Regions from separate parts of the Homo sapiens genome. Here region 1 is linked to region 2. The links are contacts of gene promoters, found by promoter capture Hi-C in blood cells and fetal thymus (Javierre and others, 2016). All regions are on one chromosome and are shown on one strand. Each heading gives the region's core, a stretch centred on a gene start or on the middle of the fragment in contact. The rest is flanking DNA. Distances are from core to core; before and after follow the strand shown. Region 1 has its middle 4.5 kb from the start of DVL3. Region 2 holds the start of VWA5B2 (von Willebrand factor A domain containing 5B2).

Region 1 (2,909 bases), core at 336-2,835, 79 kb after region 2:
CCCGGGTTCAAGCGATAATTCTGCCTCAGCCTCCGAGTAGCTGGGATTACAGGCATGTGCCACCATACCTGCCCAACTCATTTTTGTATTTTTAGTAGAGACAGGGTTTTACCATGTTGGCCAGGATGGTCTCAATCTCTTGACCTCGTGATCCACCTGCCTTGGCCTCCCAAAGTGCTGTGATTACAGGCATGAGCCACCGCGCTGGCCTCATGTGTGTTTTATAATCGTTTCCTTTACAACTTTTTTGTTTCCTCTGACTTTAATCATTGCCTTGTGTTTTCATTTGTTTTAATATATTATACCTATCATTAGTTTTTCCCATGTAATCTAATAGTTTCTCAATACACATTTTGTTCATTCAGTCAAAGCTATTAGATAATCCATCAGTTCAATTTTTCCCTGGAGGCTTCCATCTTTTTTTTTTTTTTTTTTTAGATGGAGTCTCACTCTGTCGCCCAGGCTGGAGTGCAGTGGCGAGATTCCGGCTCACTGCAACCTCTGCCTCCCAGGTTCAAGTGATTCTCCTGCCTCAGCCTCCCAAGTAGCTGGGATTACAGGCGCCTGCCACCACGCCCAGCTAATATTGTATTTTTAGTAGAGACAGGGTCTCACCATGTTAGCCAGGCTGATCTGGAACTCCTGACCTCAGGTGATCGCTCGCCTTAGCCTCTCAAAGTGCTGGGATTACAGGCGTGAGCCACCACGCTTGGTGGAACCTTCCATTCTTTTGCTCTGGTCTGCACCGCCGGCTATCTCAGCCTGTGCACAGCTGTCATCCTGGGACTTCTCTGCATCCTCAAAATTCCCTTTACCTGTCTCTGTGTTGAATCTGTTTCCTGGATACTTTACTCCTTTGTTTTATTTACCTGTTTATTGAGACAAGGCCTTGCTCTGTTGCTCAGGTTGGAGTATAGTGAGGTAATCATGGCTCACTGCAGCCTCAAACTCCTTGGCTCAAGCGATCCTATCGAAGTGCTGGGATTATAGGTGTGAACCACCGTACCCAGCCAACAATAAATTCTTGAATTAAGACCAGGTCCATGCCTGTAATCCCAACGCCACTGCACTCCAGCCTGGGTGACAGCGACACTCCTTCTCAAAAAAACAAACAAACAAAAAAGTAGCCGTGTGTGGTGGTAAGCACCTGTAATCCCAGCTACTCAGGAGACTGAGGCACGAGAATCGCGTGAACCCGGGAGGTGGAGATTGCAGTGAGCTGAGACCACATCACTGCACTCCAGCCTGGGCAACAGAACAAAACTCAGTCTAAAAGAAAAAAAAAAACGGAAAAATGGTAATTAAAATGTTCTTTTTTTTTGAGACAGAGTCTCACTCTGTCACTCAGGCTGGAGTGCAGTGGTGTGGTCTCAGCTCACTGCAATCTCCACCTCCTGGGTTCAAGTGATTCTCGTGCCTCAGCCTCCTGAGTAGCTGGGATTACAGGTGCACACCACCACATGCGGCTAACTTTTTTTTTCTTTTTTTTTTTTTTTGAGAAGGAGTCTCACCCTATCATCCAGGCTGGAGTGCAGTGGAGCTATCTCGGCTCACTGCAACCTCTGCCTCCTGGGCTCAGGCGATTCTCCTGCCTCAGCCTCCTGAGTAGCTGGGATTACAGGCATGCACCACCATGCCCAGCTAATATTTTGTATTTTTAGTAGAGACAGGGTTCCACCATGTTGGCCAGGATTGTCTCAAACTCCTGACCTCAGGTGATCTGCCCGCCTCAGCCTCCCAAAGTGCTGGGATTACAGGTGTGAGCCACCATGCCCAGCCCTAATTTTGTATATATTTTTTTGTCTTTGTATGAGATTTTATTAAAGGTCTTTACAGAGCAACATCCAGACTCCAGAATACAGCTGCTAAGGAGACCCTGTTATGCTGTAGGGACTGGCTGGGGCATGGCAGATGGCTCTGGCTTCCCACCCTTCTGTTCTGAGATGGGGGTGGTGGGCAGTATCTCATCTTTGGGTTCCACGATGCTCACGTGGTCAGGCAGGGGCTTCTTAGGGCCAGTCTTACCAGTTGGGTCCCAGGGCAGCATGATCTTCACCTTGATGCCCAGCACACCCTGTCTGAGCAACACGTGGCACACAGCAGTGCCAACGTAGTAGTTAATAGGGTCTCCACTGTGGATCGTCAGGCCATCCACAAACTTCATGGATTTAGCCCTCTGTCCTCGGAGTTTCCCAGACGCCATGACCTTGCAGCCTTTGGCCCCACTCTCCATGATGAACCGCAGCACACCATAGCAGGCCCTCCACACAGCAAGCCCTCCTAGGAGTTTGTAACGCAGAGACTCTGCCTGGGCAATGGCACACAGACCTCTAGTGGCAACCTTTTCAGCATAAAGCTCTACACTGCCCTCTGGAAAGCCAAACCTCTTCTGAACTATAGCAGTCAGTTCCCGAATCCGTCAGCCCTTCTCACCAGGAATATTCTGTGTTCTGGTGGCTAAGATAATGATTTCTGTCCTGGTTGGTGTAACTTGCATCTCAACTCCAGAGTAGCCATCTTCAGCCAGCTCCTGAGTAAGAAACTCATTCAGTTCAGCTTTGAAGATGTCATCAGTGACAAACATCCTCTTCTTGGAAATTTGCACAGCCATCTTGCCGCCACGCTCCACTGAAAGGAAAGGCCTAATTTTGTATTTTTAATAGACACAGGGTTTCACCACATTGGCCAGTCTGGTATCAAACTCCTGGGCTTAAGTTATCCTCTGCCAACCTTGGCCTCCCAAAGTGCTGGGATTACAGGTGTGAGTCACATCACACCCAGCCTTTTTTTTTTTTTTTTGGAGGCAAGGTCTTGCTCTGTCTTCCTGGCTGGAGTGCAGTGGTGTGATCATAGCTCACTGCAGCCTCGAACTGGGCACAAGTGATCCTCCCACCTCAGTCTCCCGAGTA
Region 2 (3,012 bases), core at 73-2,572:
CGGCGGGGCGTCGGGGTCCCCAGCCCCGGGCCCAGAGCGCGGCAGCAGGCGGCCTGCGAGCGGCGCCGGCTCTGCAGCTGGAAGGAGACGCGCCGTCCGGCGGCCTCGGCCTCGAAGCCGGACACCACCTCGGCCTCGGCCAGCGGGTACACGAACACGCCTGGGGAGGGCGGCGGGAGGCGGCGTCGGACCCTGCCCGGCGCACCCCCCGCCGCGCCCGCGCCCCACCCGGGCCTCACCGTCCACCGGCTGCGGCTGCGGGTTGCGGTAGGTGAGCCGGGCCCGCACGCTGAGGCAGGGGCCGTTGGCGCAGGCCCGGACCCAGGAGTCCGTGAGCGGCAGCGGCGTCCAGCTGGAGGGGCAGTACAGGCCGGGCATGGCGCCGGGAGGCCGGCCCTGCGGGAACGGGCCGGGGAAGCTGGGCGCAGGGTGACGGGACGCCCACCCCGCGCTCCAGAGGCCAGCGCGAGAGTCTCACTCCAGCACCCGGACGGGGCCTGCCGGGGCGCGAGGCCGAGCGGGAGCTCCTGAGGGCGACAGGTGGCGGGGGAGATAAGGGGGCGGCAGGCGTGGTGGCGAGGAGGGCATCCTCACGCGTTACCTGGGCAGCCGGGCCGCGGAGGGTTAATGATTAACGCGCGCTTCGGCGCCCAGCAGTCCCGCCGCGGCTCCCCCGGGGGTGGGGGCGGTCACAGCTGTTCCACCGCCCACTCCCAACCTCGCAGCCACCCCCGTACCTGCCGGCCCCCCGGGGCCCCCCGCGGCCGCCAGCTGTCGGAAGCGGCGCGGGTGGAGATGGAAGATGCTCCGGGAAGGCGGAGGTTTAAAGGGCCCGAATCCCCCCGGAGGCCCCCGGCCCTGCGAGGGATCGCGGGGGCAGGGTGGATGGGGCGCCGAAAGGGCCTTGGTCTTTCTCTCCCTGGTGCCTCATCCGACGGGGGTGCTGGCCGGAGTGGAGGGGTTAAGGGTGGGAAGAACGAGCTGGGAAAGCGAAAAGAGGGGGTCTTTGGGAGGCAAGCCCGGGAGAGGTGTCGGGCCAGGGAGAGTCCGTGGGAGCCGCCAGGTTACCGCTCCCTACCCCGGCAGAGCTGATGTGGGAGGAGGGGGCACCTGCAGTGGCCGCGGCCCGCGCAGGGGATGCCGCGGGCTGGCTCTGGGGATCGCCCCGCTCCCTGTGGCAGTCTCAGCCTCACCGTCGCGCCCTCCGCGGAGTTCTAGGTGCCCACGGGATCCGTGTGGGTGGTGCCGCCTCTGCGCTCCGGGTGGCCCTCGGTCCCGGCACCTGCCGGCCGCCAGTTCGTGACTGTGGCTGCAGCGGCTCTGAGTCCCGGCAGGGGCGCGGGCCCTGCCGGCGGTGGTCCCGCCCCCGTTCCGAGAGGCCGCCCCTCCAGCCTGCCCTGGCCACGCCTGCTGCTGCTGCGGCGGGGCTGGCGCTCCCCCCTCCTTCGGGCGCGGTACCGCCTCCGCGCCAGCCGCGGCAGCCCGAGCCAGACTGGGCACCGCAGTGCAGGGACCGCGTCCCCGCCGCCGCACGGATCCCCGTCACTGCAGGACCGAGGCCTCAGAGACCCCACCCTTTCCATTCTTCAGGAATCAGGCGTCCTGCAAGTGCCACCGACACTGCCGCGACCCCAGCTATCCCATTACCACGACGGCATCCCATTCCCCAGCCCACCCCACCCCCTGCCCTGGGTTGCTTCCCATCGCTGCAGAGACCCTCCCTCCTGACTGCAGCGAACCCCCCAGCCCCCCATCACCGTCACCGCAGGACTCTTCCCCCAAGAAGCTGGCCCCTTTCCTTTGCAAAGTGCTCTTCATCACTGCAGAAAACCTCCCCCATCCCTGCAGGTACTTTTAGTTCATGCAGCCACTTCAGTGACCACTCACTCCAAGCAGGGATTCCTCATCACTGCAGCGACCTCCTCCCACCCCCAAGCAGCCGGCCTTGGCATCGCTGCAGTGCCAACCACTTCTGCTGGGGTGGGAGGGTGTGCACAATAGCGCCCTCAGCCTATAACCCCTTGGTCTCTTCAGCTGTGCGGGCCTTGGGAGTGAAGCCTTCTAGCCTGAAGAGCCTTCTTATGGCTGCAGACCGTCCCCTCATAGCAGTGACCCCCACCCATCACCGCAGCCCTGAAGAGAAAACATCTCTGCTTGTCAGGAGGGCCCCTTGTTATTGGCAGACTTTGCATGTGCTTGACAGTGTTATGCTGTCAAAAAGTAGGAAGGTCCGGAAAACCTCTCCCAGGTCCCCCAAGGAAGAGTCTGAGAGCCCTGGGGAAGTGAGAGGAGATGACCATGTTTGGGGATCATCCATGTAAGCTTTTTGGCAGATGCCATACTGAGATTCTGCAGAGAGAGCTTGAGGAGAGCTGGGGATGGAGGACAGCCAGTAGGAAGTGAGCTTTCGAGTCGGGCCCATGGTTCTCACTCCTCCGCATTAACTCTCTCCTTCTGATTTCAATCACTATCACCAGGGATCATCCCCCCGGGGGATCCCTGCCTCCTTGAGTATCTGAGCCCTCAACCCCAACCATCTCCTTTGCTCACCCTACTTAGCATGGTGGAGAGAGCTTGACCTTTTCCCAGGGAATTTCATGGGTGGAAATGCACAGGAATGATACAGGGAGCACAGACACAGTCACACGTACCCAACACACAGGGAGCTCCAGCTGGGTCCTAGCCCTCTTTCCATACTACCTGGGTCATGGTTCCATTCACCTCTCTCCCCCTTTCTCTACTGAGTCTGTTCTCAGCTTCATCCTGAACGAGGGTCCCTCTTTCAGGCCTAGGGAGAAACAGTGGATGGGCTGATGGTCCCTCCAGGTGATCCAGGGCCTCAGGTAGGACCAGCCCTGGCCCTGAGGGCCTCACAAAGGTCCAGGCAGTGGCCACCTTTCCACAAGCACCTTGTGCTCTGCCCCTTCTACAAATGAACCAAGAGCTACATGTAGCCCTTGGACAAACATGAGGTTGCAAATAGCAGTCATTAGGGAGGTCTCCGACACATGG

The links. Contacts are between HindIII fragments. The CHiCAGO score rates a contact against its expected background, and 5 or more counts as called.
Region 1: a fragment that was not itself captured here is called in contact with the fragment with the promoter of VWA5B2 in region 2 in 1 of 17 cell types (endothelial precursors); the score reaches 6.0 in endothelial precursors.

Annotation. Positions count from the first base shown.
Region 1 is chr3:184,149,406-184,152,314 of GRCh38, reverse strand. It overlaps the pseudogene RPS3P3. Among named protein-coding and RNA genes, the nearest start is that of DVL3, 4.5 kb to the left of the region's middle. The HindIII fragment of the contact is 3,986 bases long and covers 1-2,909 here.
Region 2 is chr3:184,227,895-184,230,906 of GRCh38, reverse strand. VWA5B2 (von Willebrand factor A domain containing 5B2) reads right to left here and starts at 1,322. Exons shown (of 20, transcript NM_001390846.1): 1 at 1,194-1,322; 2 at 240-527; 3 at 1-160. The coding sequence starts at 378. RefSeq lists a silencer at 1,215-1,554. The HindIII fragment of the contact is 8,832 bases long and covers 1-2,324 here.